Regions from separate parts of the Homo sapiens genome. Here all the other regions are linked to region 1. Evidence: promoter capture Hi-C in 16 types of primary human blood cells and fetal thymus (Javierre and others, 2016). All regions are on one chromosome and are shown on one strand. The core of a region is centred on a gene start or on the middle of the fragment in contact, and the rest is flanking DNA. Distances in the headings are between cores, read along the strand shown.

Region 1 (4,513 bases), core at 549-3,048:
AACAGAAAAAAATACTCAGAATTATTAAAAAATACGGTGAGAGTAATTTTTGTGCACAAAATGAACAATTAAAAACTGATTATACAAATTTAAAAAAAAATTGAAAGGTGGCACTGAAAGTTTCCTGCCTGAAAAGCCTTCAGGATGAGAGTATTATAAAAAGTTAGCACTGTGCACCTGACTTTCTACACTGCTTCAATATGTGACCTTGGAAATGTCATGTAATTTCTCTCATTTCTAGTTCTGTAAAATGGGAATGTCCACCTGTTCTCCTCTCAAGGACAATTACACAGATAATCAGATTAAAAATTTGGTATTTGGTGTTCTTTAAAAAAAGAAACTTGTCTAATTAGTATGCTTTAATCATCACTTGTACAGTACATTCCTCTTCAAGAATCCAATTCCAAGAGAAATATTTAAGCAGACGTTGAGGACAGATTTCCTTAAGGGAATTATTTTATAAATCTGGAAAGCAATGTAACGAGATTATAAATTAACAAACTGATTACATAAGCCTTGACAACCCGGGCTTTAAAGTACACTGCTGTATATATTCTGATAAGTTAAAGACTGGTTTGGGACATAGTGCTCCAATCCCATACAAGGAGCCCAAACTCAGGCATTTCATGTTTGATAGGAACTTGGTGGAGATTCAACAGGATGTCCAACACTTGCAAGCCATGCTTCACCTTAAAACCTGACAAAATGTTTAAGGCATTAAGTCAACTTTACCACGGTTCCTAAGACTTTAAGAATGCACATAATTAAAGGGAAGGGGGGTGGAAAGTAACATGACAGTTTGAAAGGTCCCATATCCTCAGACCTCTATAGATTTAGGAACTCCACTGCTAAATTCTCCCCAAAGCCTGAAACTCCCTATGAAACTACTGGACTGTATGCGATCCAACAGTTACAAATAGCACAGCTCCAAGAACCCCGAAGATAAAAGGCTGCCACTTTCCTGCAACCCAAGTCCAAGTAAAAGGCAGGAAGGTCCCTGTAAAATGGACCAGAAAGAAATCAACAGGCGATGACTATGGAAAAGAACGTAGATTTCCCAGTCTCCCAGTCTGCAAAAATTCTAGCTCTCCCTCGGGAATGGCACTGCTCCTCTTTCCTTACCCCTTTGCCCTTTCTCTACAGACAACATCCCCACTCTATTGTAAAGCAGTTTGACCACGGAACCCTTTTGCTGAGGCCGGATTTCTACAGTCTTCTGAAAGGGGAAAACGCATTCAAAGAACACACACCCTACCAAGCGCCCAGGGCGCGGGGCCCCGCGGGCGCCGCACTCGGCCCGCTCCGGGGCGGGGCGCGGGGATGCGGGCGCCTTCCGAGGTGCCGCAATCCCGCCGCGGCCGCAAGGGCAGGGCCTCCAGGCGACCGCGGCCGCCGCCGCAGTGACGGCTCCCGCCGGGCCCCGCCGCCGCCCCGCCGCCAGGCCGCGCCGCGGGGTCCGGGCCACCGCAGCCCGGGCCCCGCGTCCTCCCGGGCCGCGCGCTGCGGCCGGCGCCGAGAGCGCAACTTACTTTCCGCCTGCGGCGAGCGCCCCGGCCCGGGCGCCCAGCCCGGCAACAGCGGAGGCTACTGAGGCGGCGGAGGCCGGCCCCGCACCCCTGCCTACGGCCGCCGCGCCCCGCCGCGCTCCGCGCTCGCCCCTACCTCAGCCGGCAGGCGAGCGTCCGTCCGCAGCGGCCGCGGCGCCGACAACTCCCTCCCGGCCGCCGAAACCCCGCACCCAGCGCTAATCATAATACCGAGCGGGCTGCCGGCCGCGGGGAGGGGGTGCCGGGTAGCTGCGCCTGCGCGGGCTGCGCGTCACTGTGACGTCAGCGCTGGGGCGGGGCCGCGGGAAGGGCAGGGCGGGGCGGCGCGCACCTGCGGCCGGCGCGCGGGCTGCTGGAGGGCATCCTGGCGGCTTTCTGACCCCGGCGAGTCGGGGCTGAGGCGGCTGGCGGGACAAAGCGGGCAAGGCGCCCAAGGAGGATGGAGGACGGGGGAGGAGGAAGCACCAGGGACACGGAACAATGGCCGGGAAAAAGTAGCGCGAGCTGTCAGGGGAAATCGGAGGGAAGGGACCGCGTCTGTACAGGACTGCGTCTTGGCGGCAGGGGGCAGGGAGCCGCACGCGCTTTACTCTTTGGTTCCCGCCCAGGTTTAAACAAGGATAAAAAAATTGTAAAAATACATATACATACACACATGCACATATGTATATACATATATATACATAATATGATTTTTTTCTCTGTAGTTTCTTCTCCCTGGGACTCTAATTTGAAAAAATTCGGTTGATTTTGTTGTTATTTAAGCAAAATTGGAAAAGCCCAACATCTGAATGCAGTGCTGGCCTTAAAGGTCAGCGGGAGACACAGGCCCTGCTAGGCAGCCTCTGGCAACAGCATAGAAAAGTAAACGGTCGTGGGGACACATCAAAGCACGTGAAGTCAGAGATTCAAAACACGCCGGGCATTAACCATAGCCCTTGATGGTTCAGTGGTATGGTCGCCAGGCCAGGTTGCTCTGGAAGGGAGCTTAGGGATGGCCGCAGAGGGTGGGAGGGGACTCCCGACTCCCACCCCTGGAAGCATGGCATGCAATAGAGACCAGCTCTTCAGGGTTCCTGGAAGGGAACACCAACAAACCAGACGCCAGATTTCTTCAACCTGCTTTTCCCCTTCTGTTCCCACGTTGTGTCCACCCTTCCCCAAGAAAGGACCCCTAGCAAGGAAGGACACAAGCCAGAAGAGCTGCGGAGATGCTGCAGGCTTGGTTGAATTGACTGGACTGCGAAGAGAAATCTAGATGGTTTTAGCAAATCTCTGTTGACCTGCAAATGTCAAAAGCCTTTTAGCTTCTATGCATCAACTTTGCATGTCTGAAGATGATTGGGAAGCAGGAGTGGATTGTTGGGAGGTGCAAACAGTTTGATTCTTAGGGTAATAACATAGGGTTTTCTGATCAAGGGGACTCCCAGTTACCCTAATACCCTTGCATCAGGTGGTGGGAGAGCACCAGGGAAAGCCTCAGATTAGGCCTCTGCGCCTTAGGGTCCCACCTGGGATCACTCTGACCTGAAAAGACCATAAAAGAGTCATCTCATTTTGACATGGAAATCGTAACTGTAGCAGCATATTAAGCAAGAGCTCCTAACTTGGATTTGTAGAATTTGTCCTTTTGTTGCTAGAAATCAGGAAGACCATGCACTTTTCTCCTCAGGGAGATATCACTATTCAGGGAACTCTGTAGCCAACTAAAGGGAGAAAATACCACTGTAATGGTCTCCCAAGGGATTTCCAGTGGTCGAAGGCCTCCACCCCTGGGTCTGTAGTCCCTGAGTTATATCAGTAACTACAGAACAATGACGATAATATATAAGCTCTTGAAAAATAAAGTATTTATATTGCTGCTGTTTAACTAGGTTTTGAATAAATTTTCTAAGGAAAACAAGGCATAAAAGAGCAAAACAAATGAAAAAGGGCAAAATAATAAATTGATTTAAATGAAGTTGGCTGCAATACTCTTCTAGAGAAGGACGCAGTACTGGCCACATGGTAAATCATTTATTCATCCCCAGTATTTCTTGGGTAGCTGAAGTGCTGCTGGCAAGAATATGACCCAGTTTTGGTTCCACACCATAAATGTGGTGACATGATTTGATTATGCTTCGGCAATATTTTAAGATATTCAAGTACAAATTAATAGTATTACTTAAGTTGGAATTTAAGCAAATGTGCTTATAGTTAATGAAGAAACTCCTTTTCCACTCTGCCCTGGGGCTTTCTCCAACACACTGCTTTTTTAATGTTGGGTCTTTTTATGGACCTGTAAGAAGCTTTAATTAGATGTACAGCATTCTACAAAACGACAAGATGAAGCATGCTTGCTTGTATTACAGTCTCTGTGATTCAGATCTCAAAAATAACATAATGCCACCAGTTTAAGGAAGATGTTGTTTATTGGAAGGAAACCAGGGAGGTGCCACAAATTAGATCAAAATGTGAAAATTGAGCAGACTGATGAAAGAATTGTCATTTTCATCTTTGGAACCCCAAAAGCAGCATATGTAACAAGGTTATCTTCTCTGGATATTGTTAGTTTTTGTAATTTATTTCAAATTTTAAAATAAATGTATTTAAAACAACAGACATTGAATATTCATACACAGTTCAATTTTGAGTTGTGACATTTTATTTAACAACATTCCCTTTTACATATTTAACTAGTTATTTCATACATTTATACTTGTGCATTTCTAGATCCTGGCTTCACCCCAGTAGGATCAAAATAATACTTAATTGGAATGACCTAAAGAGTTCCTCAAAGACTCCTTCACCACCCTATGGGCATCAGTTAACATCTTCTACTCTTTTATCTCAGATGTCAGTTAAGGTCCTGTGTGTGTGTGTGTGTGTGTGTGTGTGTGTGTGTGTGTGTGAGAGAGAGATATTTCTGATAGTTGCAAACAAGAATTGGAAATGCCAGTCCTTAACTCTGCTTGTTTGCAACCAGT
Region 2 (4,513 bases), core at 1,433-3,932, 100 kb after region 1:
ACTAGCAAACCAAATTCAACAGCATGTTAAAGGATCATACACCACAATCAAGTGGTATTTATCTCTGGAATGTAAGGATGGGTCAACATACGCAAATTAATAAATGACATACCGCATTGACAGAATGAAGAATTAAAATAATGAGATTTTCTGCATCTCAATAAATGCAGAAAAAGCATTTGACAAAATTTAACATCTTTTCATGATTAAAACTCTCAAAAATTATAGATAGAAAAAATGTACCTCAACATAGCAAATGCCCTATGTGACAAGTCCACAGCTAATATTATACTCAATGGAAAAAGTTGAAAGCTTTTCCTCTAAGATTGGAAACAAGATAAGGATGTCCACTCTCACCACTTCTATTTAGTAAAGTACTTACTGGAAGTCCTAGCCAGAGCAATAGGAAAGAAAAAGAAATAAAAGGCATCCAAATTGAAAGGAAGAAGCAAAATTGTCTGTGTTTGCAGGTGATACCATCTATTAAAAAACCCTGAAGACTTCACAAAAAACTATTAGAACTAATAAATTCAGTAAAGTTGCAGGATACAAAATTAACATTTCAAAATCAATAATCTATCCTTTCTTTTCCTTTCTTTCCTTTCTTTCCTTCCTTCCTTTCTTCCTTTCTCCTTTCTTAAAATCATATAAATGGCCAACAAGTATATGGAAAAAATGCTTAACATTATTAATCATCAGAGAAATGCAAATTAAAACCACAATGAGGCATCACCTCATACCTGTTAGGATGGCTGTTATCAAAAAGATAAAATAAAAGTGTTGGTAAGGATGTAGAGAAAAGGGAATTCTTGTACACAGCCCCATGAAAAAACTTGGCTGCTTACACCCCTGGTCACAGGACGATTTGTGTAGTAGTGGGAATAGAAGCTGCTGAAGGGTTTTCAGCTTCTCACGGATAAAACTAAGGGAGTGTCTTGCTGTGACCAGGAAGATGGCCCTCCAGAACAGGGAGGGGGTTCCCACCTTCCCTTGGCTTCCCAGAGCATGGTGGAGAGGTTAGGACTCAAACAGATGTCTGTTCAAATCCTGATGCTGAGGCTATCTCACTGTAGGAATGTGAACGAGTTACTTAACCTCTCTATGCCTCAGTTTTCTTGGCTGAAAGTGAAGGTAGCAACACATAGCACTTAGGGTTGTGTAAGGAACTAATTGGATAATGTGTATATAAATTACTTGGTTTATGGTAGGTGCCCAATTGATGATAGCTGTTAGTCTGCATCAGTACCACTAAGTGTAGGCAATCAGGAAGCCACACTAGAATGCCAAAGAAATGGATAAAAAGACCATTGAACATCTCTCAGATATAACATCATTATGACCCCAGGGCATAGCACATAGTTAGCACTTGGTAAATATTTGATAAACTCAATGAATGAATGAATCAATCAGTATGTCCTAGGCCATCTCAGACATGCAAGTAGCAATGAGGGTGAAGAGCTCATCTCTGGAGGAGCTAAGAAAATCCCTGTGATGATTATACTATTAATAAAGCAGCAAATAATTAAGAACAGTTACTCCATGCCTGATGCTAAACTTCAAAACACCCTTATAAGGTGGTGCTTCACTTCCATTTTACCTAGGAGGAAACCGAAGCACAGAGAGGTCCCATAACCTGCCCTATCTCATGCAGTTACAGAGAGTGGAGCAGCGTCTATGTCTGGATCTTGGGGCAGGAAGGTGGTGGAGCAGTGCCTCCTCCCGCTTGGTTAAAGTGACAATGGGCAAGGAAATTGAACTCAATTTAGTGCTGAAGGCAGATGGAGGCATTTCCTGAATGAGGACAGGATACGGGGTGGTCACTCGGTTGAGGCCAGTTACGTGCATGGTGCCACCACAGTCGGCTCCTACGTGGCCTGATCAGGTTGCTGAAGCTTCACATGTTCTTCTGTTTGGAGTTGGGAACTGCACTGCCATTTATTAGATGATCCCAAAATGCCCTGATGTATTGTACACTTCAAGGTCTGCTTGGTCATGTTGCACTGTGTTTTCACCATTTTCATCATCCAGCTGAGTAATTTTACGTAGAATAACAAACAACACACAGCTATTTAAAAGATCTTTATCACTGACATTCCTACTGCAAACGAATGGCATTGCTATTATAAATCTGAAGCTCTCTAGCCCACAAACCTGTTTATCCTTTTTGTTTGTTTGTTTAAGACTTAGAATACAACTTTGTTAATGTGAAGTTTCTTAGGGCATTTTTATTACCCCTAACAAAGGACAAGCAAGAAAAATATCAGGACTAACAATGTCCTCTTAACATGGCCAAAGGTGATCGAGTGGGGAAATACTGGGGGGCCTGGCAGGGGTCACCAAGCCCTGTGCCACATGAGTGAGGTCACCTGCTCCCCAATTTGCTTGGACTATGACTGTGAGTGCCAAACGTGAGTCTTGGCCAGCTCCTGGGGTGTGACCAGACTTGTCAGCTATGACACCTGCCAGCCTGTCCTGACCTTCCTCAGGGATGACACTGGCTGGGTGAAGGGTGACCCAAGGAAGCTCGTCCATTGTTGGTACCTGACCCATGAGATGTGAAGGTCATTGGAGCTGAGCCAATCACATCAGCTCCCACTAGGATGTGGCCCAGGCACCCAGGAGAGAGAGGATTGGTCCACTGGGAGCAGCGGAACCTGCAAGGCCCCAAAATTGAGAGGGGCTGTGGCTCCCTGGGAAATTAGGATCATAAACTTTTGACAGTGCCTGACTGTAGGTCTGGTTCTCTGACTTTCCCTATTTCACAGAGAGGACTCATCATGCCTGGGTTGCACAGTGTCCCCTCCTAGAGCATTCTGGGTTGAAGGCCTTTGCTCCCCGCTTCCCTGTTCCATCCCTGGTCCTGGCTGAGGCAGGTGAGAGGAGTCCAGAATTGGGCAAGTTGGGTGGCTGAGTTCCATCTCCTTGGTGCTCTGCGTGAGTGTCCAAAGGACCTTTCCGGGCCATAAAGGGATCACTTGCCGCTCATCATTGCCAATGAACAGTTCTTCCTCCCTAAGTCCCACATCTCTGCTAAGGAGCCTGAGTATCTGGGGCCTTTCATCAGCCAAAAATAAGCTACCATGTATGAGGTATGGCTGTGCTGCCCTTCAACTTTTAGCAAGATGGTAGGGGATTGTGTGAAGAGCCCACGGCTGGCCCTTTCATGATTTATGTTGCCTCTCTGAGCCTCATCTTGAGGAGCACTTTGAGAAGGCCTGACCCATGCCCAACAAAAAGCTGATCTGCCAAAAGTACAGCTAGTGGGAATGACTGGTGACCTTGCCAATCCTGCAGGCCCCTCTGTGACTTCACTCTTAAGCTAGGCCACCGTAGAAACCATTCCTGGTCTCCATCTGGGTCTAAGTGGTGGTGGTGAGGTCCTGCCAGTGCCTGGCCCTCCCTAGAAGGAGCTCTTCGGGGGTTCTTAAGCTGTTTGTGGGATAAGCTCAGATAGAAACAAAAAGCAAGCTTACAAAGGACCAAAAGACTCCTATTGTCTTTGGTCCTCACTTTCTCTATCTGAAGACAATGAGGGAGTTGGACAAGCCAATCCCAGAGCCTTTCATTGCCCTAATCAAGATCAAATATAGAAATGTGAGCCAGAGGGAAATACAGGAGCCCTATCAAAGCTAGGCATGATAGGGCCTAGCTTGGTGTCACAGAGAGGAGGGCTCAAGCTAGGGGCTAGGAGGAAGACCCCAATCCCTATGGCCTGTTTGAGTGTATTATGTCCCTACCACATCAGCCAGTGTTTACAGGTTCTCTCCTGGGTTCTGATCTAATCTGATCTACTTCTGCACTGGGCTGCTCCGTCTCCCTGACCCCGTCTCCCCATCATCTGGGAAATTTTTCCACAGTTCCTGTTTCTCTCCTGAGCTTCCCTATCTCTGAGTCCTTAAGGGAAGGACAAAGTAGGACCCTCAGGTTGGGATTTCTGACTGCAAGCAACAGAAATTAATCAGATCTCAGCTGACTCGAGCAAAAGAGAAATGCATGAAAGGACACACAAGTAGCCCCAGAGAAAGGCATGTGTCAGGGTCAATTGATTTTTATCCTTGTGTGGCTCCACCAAGATTGAAATTCCTGGGAAGAAAGGATCTGCTTGGCCTTATGGGTTGGAGTGGGACTGGGTTAACATTTCTACCTATGTTGAAAGCATTTTCTAATGTCAGATGAACTGCTGTTATAGAAAACAAGGAGAACATCTGTTGAACAGACAAAAACAACTGATGCTTATCATTGGCTCATGCTCGTTAGAACATTCTGGAAACACTTTAGGATAGAGGGAGAAAGGTCTTGCTGTTTCTGCTCTTTGAAACTGCAAATAAAGAAAGTTCTGCTTTTGGAATCTGACTTAGCCTTAAGATGGATATGTTTAACTTGTCAGCATGTTGACAATGATAATGCCTTTGTTAATGAATGCCTTTGTTAACGAATGTTCCACATTCATTGACTTATTTTTTTCACAACCCCCTGTAAAAAAGGGAAGCAAGGCATTATTATTCCCATTTGA
Region 3 (4,513 bases), core at 505-3,004, 85 kb after region 1:
AGAGACAGCATGGAGCTGATAACAAACCAGAAGGGTGGGGGATCGGAGGGGGTAGCTGTGTCAGGGACAAGAAATACATGTCAGAGAGAATGATTCAAGACAGTAAAAACCCACACTGATGCTTTTTCTTGTTTGCCTGTTTAAGGGGTTGGGTGCAGACAATACCTCTTGAATATCCAAAACTAAGCAGCTACCTCATCTATTCATCCACCCAAGCATCCACCCACCCACCCATCCTCCTCTGTAAATGAGGGCTGGACTGAGCCTCTTGGTACACTGGAATTCTTTTTTTTTTTTTTTTTTTTTTTTTCCAGACAGAATCTTGCTCTGTCGCCCAGGCTGGAGTGCAGTGGCATGATCTTGGCTCACTACAACCTCCACCTCCTGAGTTCAAGCAATTCTTGCACCTCAGCTTCCCAAGTAGCTGGGATTACAGGCATGTGCCACCACACCTGGCCAATTTTTGTATTTTTTAGTAGAGATAGGGTTTCACCGTGTTGCCCAGGCAGGTCTCAAACTCCTGCCTCAAGTGATCCAACCACCTCAGCCTCCCAAAGTGCTGGGATTACAGGCATGACCCACCATGCCCGGCTTGTACACTGGAATTCTGAGGGACTCCTGCATCCACCATCTGTTGAGCACAGCCACTTTGCCACTGTTGAATTTAAGTAGAGGTTTGAAAAACTCTTAGGAGGAAACATTTCTCTTCCTAGCAAAAAACAAGAGCTTTGGGGAATTTTCGTCAAAATCAGCCCAATGACTGCTCAAAAGCTTTGGTTTTACTCTATTAAATTACATTTTTCTTAAACTGCTGGGCGAATGTTACTGTCTCAGAGACCCCCTCAACTGACAGATAAGATCTCCCTTCTAGCCACCTGAAGAAAGAGCGAGTCTTGCATTTTACATGCCAAGATTTGAGTGTGTCCATCTGTCTTGGAGCCTGCAAGGGTCAGCTTACAAAAATATGCAGCCTCACTCTATCTTCCACCCACGTTACAAGTTTGAGGAACGGGTACAGTCAAGGCAACAAGAATCCAGGTCTTTCTATAGTTGTGCTTGCTAGCAAATTAGTGTCTGAGAATTTGGAAACAGTACCAAGAGGATAACTATAAGGAGACATACCTTATATATCTTCTTAGGTTCCCTCTATGGCTTCGTACCCTCTTCTGGATAGTGCCCATTCACTCCCGGATGCCCTCCACTTTTGGACTGGGTGAAACACCTCACCATGGGGCATGGGATCTGGTTTCTTGGGCAGTCATCAGGGACTGGATAATGCAAGGTTAGTAACTATTCAGGAAGTGGACATTGACCTAGGAGATAGAAGACAGATGGGCGCAGGGCAGATAACTTCCCCCATCCTACTCTGTCTTGTGGGTGCCTCTGCATCATTAATCCTTCCTGCAGCCTTTTCAGAGAACTCTTTATACTAAGTAAACATGCAACCTGGTGTCCCATCCAAGCTTATGGTGGGTGAAATAGGTCATCACAGTAGTGCATTGCATTACTTCTCATGACTTCTCTTCCCTCATTTTCTGCCCCCTCATCTCCATTGCTCTGGGCTTGCAACTTCTAAGCAAATTAGAACCTCAATCCTTGCTCAGTTTCTGCTTTCTGAAGGACCTAGACCAAGGCAGGAAATAATATTTGTTCAGCACCTGCCAAGTGCCCACAGGTGCTTGTGATATATTCAAACTGATTATGGAACTTGGAAAGCTCATTCAGAAGAGCAAGAAACATGTCCCCAGGGCACCTAGGAAATCAGCAGCAGAATGGGAGTAGAATTGTTAAAACAGGACTGAAACATGGCTGATGAGAAAAAGAAGGAAAAGAGGGAGGAGCAGAATGGAGATTGGGTGTCATCAGGTCTTTGGGTGCCAAATGAACAAAGAGGGCTTTTGTATTGAGACTTTCAGGTTAAATCCCAGGCATCCAAGTTGGTGACCAAGTTAGGAAAGATTTCTGTTTTGGGGATTCAGCTTATACAACACTTTTGTGTTTTCTTTGTGGCAGAAGTTTTTAAAGAATGAGGAAGGGTAAGCTTTCAGTACCGGTATATTAGTTATCTATTATTGCCTGACAAATTATTCCACAACTCAGTGGTTTAAAATAACAATAATCAGCTGGGCGTGGTGGCTCATGCCTATAATCTCAGCACTTTGGGAGGCCAAGGCGAGCAGATCACTTGAGGCCAGGAGTTCAAAAGCAGCCTGGCCAACATGGTGAAACCCCATCTCTACCAAAAATACAAAAATTAGCCAGGTGTTGTGGTGCGTGCCTGTAATCCCAGCTACTTGGGAGGTTGAGGCACAAGAATCGTTTGAACCCAGGAGGCGGAGGTTGCAGCGAGCCGAGATTGCACCACTGCACTCCAGCCTGGGTGACAACGTGAGACTGTCTCTAAAAAATAAAAATAAATAAATAAATAAAAGAACAGTAATCAATTATTGTCTCTCAAAGTGTCTGTGGGTCAGGAATTCAGGGGTGGTGTGGCTGGGAGGTTGTGGCTATGGTCTCTCATGCGGTTAAAGTCAAATGTTTGCTGAGATTACAGCCAATTGAAGGCTGACTGAAGCAAGAGGATCCATTTCCAAGATAGTTCACTATTAGCACGAGACCTTAATTACTTTCTTCAAGAGCCTCTCCCTGTGGTGGCTTGAGTGTTCTCATGACGTAGTGGCTGGCATCCCCTAGAGCAAACAATCCAAAAGACCAAAGCAGAAGCTGCCGTGCCCTTTATGGCTTACCTTCAGAAGCCACTCACCGTTCTCTTCACCATACTCTATCGGTCACACAGAAAGCCCAAGTTCAATTCAGGAAGAGTATGGCCACCAGGAGGTAAGTGAGGATCCTGCCCGGAGGAGCAGCATTTTTGGAGACTGGACCACAACCAGCATCCTGGAACATGAGAGCTGGGAGAGTTCTTAGAGGTAATCTGTTTCAATATTCTTATTTAGTAGCTGAAAAACCCAAAGATCAGAGAGGTTAAACAACTTGCTCCAGGTCGCTTAGTGAATCATCTGTTCACACTTAATTCAGGATTCAACAGTGCCTGCAGGAAGCCCATTTTATGAGGCCATATGAGAGCTGGACCTCATGGTCAAACAGCATCACTATGCTGATGAAGAAGGAAGGAAGAAGTCAGGCGTGATGCATTAAACAAGAGTTGCCAAATGAATACACTGCAAAGCTGATTATAGAAGTCCATTCATATATTCAAGATATATTTATGGAGTGCTTACTTCATATTTGGCATTGGCTGGGCACTGGTACAGAGGTAGGCAAAAACATGCTCTTGCTCTCTTAGACCTTGTGGTGTAGTGGGGAAAACAGACATGAGTTGCATAGTTCCACAGATAATGGAAGTACTATGACTATGACAAGTGCTTTGAAGAGGAGGCTGAAGACTGTGACAGCCCAGAATATTAGGTTTGTTCCAGCCAGCGAGGCTTCTCCAAGGAAGTGATGATTCAATTATCACTTGACAGCCTGAAAATGAGTTCTAGTATCAATGAGATAATGATTTTTGTTCAAGTTTTGTTTTTTTTAAGATATTATATTCTCCACCTCCAAAAGTTCCATTTGAGTTTTCTTTTATATCTTCTACTTCTCTCAGAATTGAGTTTGTGTTTTCCTTGAGTATCCTTTCATATATTTATGAGATTTATAATAGCTATTTTAATGTCCACTTTTGCTAGTTCCATCATCTCTGCTGTTGCTGGGACTTCTTCTATTTTTCCTCCTGGTTATGAGTCATATACTCCTGCGCTTTTGTATGCCTGGTCATTTTCTACTGGATGCTAGATAATGGGAATTTTACCGTGTTGGGTGTTGGATTTTGTTTTATTCCTCAGAAGAGTGTTGGGCTTTGTTCTGGCACACAGTTACTTGGAAACAGTTTGATCCTTTCAGGACTTGCTTTTAAATTTTGTTATGGTAGTGTTATCAAGCAAAAGAGCTCACTACCTGATGTATGAGAAGCCAACACCATGTCATCAGGTTTTTTCAGAAAAGAAAAGCCTTTCCTGTGAGTCAACCAACAAGGTGACAGAAGTTAAGCTCAAATCTGTCTCCCTGTGCTGGCTTTAAGGCAAAGTTTTTTTATTAGAAAAGGTTTAGGGGGTAGATTTTGGGATTAGTAGGTGATTGGTAGGAGGGAAGGGGAGGTCTGGAAAGTCTTTGGACGTGTGTAGTTTCAAAAAATGTTATTTTATGGATTGTATGTGTAAATATGGGGGAAGTGAGTATGAATCATGTGGTGGAAATTTATACTGTGACATCAGTAACCTTGTTTTGCCCAGGCTCCAGTTGACCACAGTGGTCCCAGCCAATTTCAGCCAGTTTTTTTATCTTACAAAAGCAGAGAGAGTTTCAGCATTTTAACAAGTTGTTTCTTTTCTCATCCATCATCCTACAAACTCAAGAATTTCTGTCAGTCATTAGTTTCTTTAACTCTTTGGGGCACAGTGTCATAGGTCCAGGAAACCTCCAATCTAGGGCTAAGCTAGCCCTA
Region 4 (4,513 bases), core at 752-3,251, 65 kb before region 1:
CAAGCTCCAAAAGAAAATCTGTGGTCTTTGGTTGAGTACTGATCAGTACTTATGAGAAAACTACCTGAGGCTGGAGAAAGAACCACTGGAAAGCAGCAGGCTGAACAATGCTCAGAACTTACCCAAGGCTGGTAATAGTTCATGTTCCTACCAGCCAGAGTAGAAAAGCCTCAATAGAGTCCCTAGAGAGGTATTGCCTCAGTAGTGGGCCAAATTAGCCCTAGACTGAAGACTGCTCAGGATCTGCCCTAACAGTTTAAAAGTGAGACATGAAGGATCCAATGATTTTAAATAACTGCAGTCCAAAATGAAATCCAATACTTCTCACACGAATACAAAAAATTCCAGCATTCAACAATGCAAAATTCAGTGTCCAGCATTGCAATAAAAATGAATCAAGAATTTTTATACCCAATGATAATATCTTTCATAAAGGAAAAGTAATTTTTCAAAACAAAAGCTGACAGAATGTAATGCCAGCAGATCTGCATTATATGAAATGTTAAAGAATGTTCTACAGGCAGAAGGAAAACCAAACTGTGGATCTACACAAAGAAATGAAGAGTGCTGCAAATGACAAATATGTAGCTAAAATACTCCCCCCCCCCCTGTTTAATCCCTTAAAAACTAGTTAAAACAATATTTATACATATACAAAAATAAAATGTATGACAACAGTAGTATAAGGAACAGGAAGAGGAAAATAGAGGCATACAGTTGTAAGGTTTTTATATTCTACATGAAGTGATATATTAAGATAGACTGTGATATAATAAAATACATGTATTGCAAATCTTATAGCACCCCCTGAAAAACAAGAGTTACAGCCAATAAGCCAATAGCGGAGATAAAATGGAGTAACAAAAGGTGCTCAGTTAAACCAAAACAAGGTAGCAAAAGAGGGAAAAAGAACAGACGAGACAAATAGAAAACTAGGTAGGTTTAAACTCAACCATATTGACAATTACACTAAATGTAATACATCTAAACCCTCAATCAAAGACAGACATTTGCTGATGGGATAAGAAAGCAAGCTCGAACTATATGATATCTGCAAAAAACAAACTTTAAACATAAAGACACAATAGGTTAACAGTAAAGAATGGAAAAAGATATATTCTCACAAGTCAAAAAAAAGCTGGAGTTACTGTATCACTATCACACAAAGTAGATTTCAGAACAAATAGTTTACCAGTCATAAAGAAGGAACATTTCATGAGGAAAGGGATCAATTCATTGATATGACGTAACAATCTTAAATGCTTATGTACCAAACAACAGAGCTTCAAATTTTCTAAAATAACACTGCTAGAACTAAAAGGAGAAATAGACAAATCCACAACTATAGTTGGAGATTTCAACACTCCTCTCTCAATAATTGAGACAGAAAATCAGTAAGAATATAGAAAACTTGAACATTATCAACCAACTTGAACGAACTGACATGTATAGGACACTCCACCAATAGCACTTTCCAAGCACTCAGGAAACATTCACCAAGATAGGTCGTATGTTGGGCCATAAAACAAGTTTCAGTAATTTCAAAAGATTTAAACTATAGAAAGCATGCACTGATAAAAATAGAATTAAACTAAAAATTATAGAAACCTATGTGGGAAAACCCCAAATATTTGGAAACTAAACACGTTTCAAAACATGGTATGATTTAGCCTTTAAAATGATCTCTCATACTGCTAAGTGGAAAATAAATGAGAAAGACAAGGGCAAATGCAGGGAAACCCTTTAAGAGGCATTTACAGTTGAGTGTCATGGACTAGAGTGGTAGTGGTGGTGGCAATGAGAAGGAGTCAACTGTGAAAGGCAAGTTAAGATTTGCTCATAAACTGAATGTTGGGATGAAAAAGTGGATGACACCAAGATTTTCAGCTTGAATGAAACTATTGAAGGCTAGGAGTTGATATTTATTAAGATGGGTGCGCTAGTAAAAGGATTTGAGGGGAAAGATTAGGGGTTTTGAACTTGTAAAAATTGAGATGCTGTAGACACACAGACACATCCAAGAAGAAAAGTCAAATAGATAGTTGAAATCCAGTGTTCCCAGGGTATGTGGGCTAAATATATTTTGGGCTTCTATCAGCATATAGATACTAGACTAACTGAGATCAGGAGTCACTGCAGATAGAGCAGGGGTCCAGAATTGAACATTGGGACATTCCAAATTTAGAGGTTGGAAGAATGAGGAAGGACCAGTGGACATGAAGAGCAGCAAGGCAGAAGTGAGATACTGAAAGATGGGAAGTTCATAAGGAAGAAAGTGAGCAATTCATCAAATTCTAACATGGGATTGAAAATTGATCACAGGAAGTGGTTGCATGAGGCTGGAGTAAAGGGAGTTGCGGACAAGGTAAAGTATGCCAAAGGGCACAAGATTTCTTTGGCGGGCGGGGGGGGGTTGTAAAAGTCAATTATGGTAATGGTTGTGAGAACTGAGTAAGAGTAGCTGACCTTGGAATCACAGTAACAGGAGGAAGGGCAGAGCATGTGAATGTGTATGAAGGAAGGGAGGAAGGCAGAGGTGGGAACTTGTGGCAGTTCTCATTGCTTCCCTTTATTCAATTAGGCAGCATGGTGACCAGCAGAGTGAGGAAAGGAGATGAAATAGAGAAATAAAGTAAGTATACTTAATGGGCACCCTGGCCCCACCTATGATTTGTAGCCATGAGTTTAAACATAATAATGACTGTACTTTTTCAGCCAAATCTGGTGGTGCAGGCACAGGGCATGGAGAAGGCTGGGTCTAACTGAGGTGGGATCACACAAAGCTACACTCATGAGAAGCAATACAACACAGGACACGGTTTATATTGCTGAACACCAATATGTCACTTTATTATTTGGATTTTTTTTCCCATTTGTCACATACCTGTCAATGTTTACACAATGAGGGAAATCAACCAGCATTGGAAGCAACTGACCAAATCAGTTGATAATTCTGTACCCTCTTAACACACATCAATTTTCACTTGGTAGGGATTATCTTTAATTCGGTCTCACAGCTATTCTTAAAATTGGTGTCAAGATTGTCACATCTTTAAATACAGATAGAATTGCCAGAAGTACATAATTATATATATATACACACATACAGAAAAATACAAGACTGTTTTTCCACAATATTTAATTTATACACTACTGTAACTATATGCAACTTTTGAAGACAGGTTAAGGGGTACAAGTAACTGTTTAGAGCAAGTAAGTAGTTTGGTCCAATATTATCTTAATGTAATGGTTTTTCGCTCCCTCCCTTTTATGTGACGACATACTATGACATACAAAACATGCACAATCATTCACTTATAAACAAAGGAGTAAGACACCACTCAGACTGACATTTGTATACCCCAAGGGTCAACCACACAACTAATAAGGCTATAATACAGCTATGCAGCATAAATGGTCAACACTGCTGATCCTAAAGTGAGCACCATATATACATCTGAATATAAAAAACCATTGAAACCAAACACATATGGGTTAGTTAAAAGGTGCCATTCCAAGGCTATACATAATCACAGGAAAAAGTATTTACACTGCTTGGAAAACAGCTGCAACAAAGAGTTTATTGCCAATGCCCTTTATAAACTTCTCTCCTATGTTTAATACAGATGTTACGCTCACTATCTATGTGAACCACACATCTTATTTCTGGCCCTTTATAAGATCCCTGCTCAAGAATTTCAAGCAAATATGTTCTATGGCTTCACCCACACATCTATTCTCATAGCTTTCAAATTATAAATATCACAATGAACTAGAGCTGTAGCTTAAAACATCTAGCCTAGGTCTAGAAAGTAAAATAAGTATTTTAAGTATCATTTTTACTTAGTTTAGTAAGTATACTGTGAAATTCAGAGTTCTGAGTAAAATATATTTATCCTAAAGTAGCAGAGTCAGTGTGTACTTGAAGAAACAGTGACCACAGCAATGCAGTTCTTTGGTGATGTGCCCACTCTCTGAATTACAGGACCAGATGCGTCTCAGTCCGTCACCTCAGACACATGACTCGGGGCTGAAGAGTGGGGAAGGGCCCTGGGTCCCAGCCACATGCTATCACCAATGTTGCTAAGCACTGCTTTTAAGACTCCCAGGGCACTGCATGAAAAAACAGCAACTGGCCCCTTCCATAATCAGCAATTTGCAATATACAGTGTCCTACAAGATAGAATGCCACAACAGATGATTATCTGGTCAAAAACAGTCTTTGTACAGGAATAGGTTAAAGCAAGAGTTCTTTGATTATTGTTTTGGCAGAAAAAGGCAAAGTGAAAAACAATTCCAGAAAAAAAAGTTACGAAGCAGGCTTTGTGCATTTTTGTTTGCTGTATGTGTGAATTTTACCCTTTTATGTATATTTTTTCATCAGCCAATTTCAAAGCTAGCTGAGCCAAAGGATATAACTGAATGAAAATAACAAAAGAGATAATCTAATTACCAAACTCCTAAAAACCAAATTCCAGTAGGTTTTAATTCATGGGGTTTTGACTTTGCCAAC

What was found. Contacts are between HindIII fragments. The CHiCAGO score rates a contact against its expected background, and 5 or more counts as called.
Region 2: a fragment that was not itself captured here is called in contact with the fragment with the promoter of SNRK in region 1 in 7 of 17 cell types (non-activated CD4 T cells, total CD4 T cells, naive CD4 T cells and 4 more); the score reaches 8.9 in non-activated CD4 T cells.
Region 3: a fragment that was not itself captured here is called in contact with the fragment with the promoter of SNRK in region 1 in 1 of 17 cell types (non-activated CD4 T cells); the score reaches 7.3 in non-activated CD4 T cells.
Region 4: a contact is called between the fragment with the promoter of SNRK-AS1 here and the fragment with the promoter of SNRK in region 1, in 4 of 17 cell types (total CD8 T cells, naive CD8 T cells, non-activated CD4 T cells and 1 more). The highest score is 7.3, in total CD8 T cells.

Annotation. Positions count from the first base shown.
Region 1 is chr3:43,283,825-43,288,337 of GRCh38, reverse strand. SNRK (SNF related kinase) reads right to left here and starts at 1,798. Exons shown (of 7, transcript NM_017719.5): 1 at 1,663-1,798. RefSeq lists silencers at 1,264-1,313, 1,554-1,953 and an enhancer at 1,558-2,058. The HindIII fragment of the contact is 7,817 bases long and covers 1-3,837 here.
Region 2 is chr3:43,183,380-43,187,892 of GRCh38, reverse strand. No RefSeq gene overlaps it. Among named protein-coding and RNA genes, the nearest start is that of POMGNT2, 80 kb to the right of the region's middle. The HindIII fragment of the contact is 1,576 bases long and covers 1,895-3,470 here.
Region 3 is chr3:43,198,713-43,203,225 of GRCh38, reverse strand. No RefSeq gene overlaps it. Among named protein-coding and RNA genes, the nearest start is that of SNRK, 86 kb to the left of the region's middle. The HindIII fragment of the contact is 578 bases long and covers 1,466-2,043 here.
Region 4 is chr3:43,349,450-43,353,962 of GRCh38, reverse strand. It overlaps SNRK-AS1 (SNRK antisense RNA 1), which reads left to right and starts at 2,001. Exons shown (of 3, transcript NR_046757.1): 1 at 2,001-2,365; 2 at 2,582-2,632; 3 at 3,986-4,513. It overlaps SNRK (SNF related kinase), which reads right to left. Exons shown (of 7, transcript NM_017719.5): 7 at 2,820-4,513. The HindIII fragment of the contact is 8,620 bases long and covers 1-4,513 here.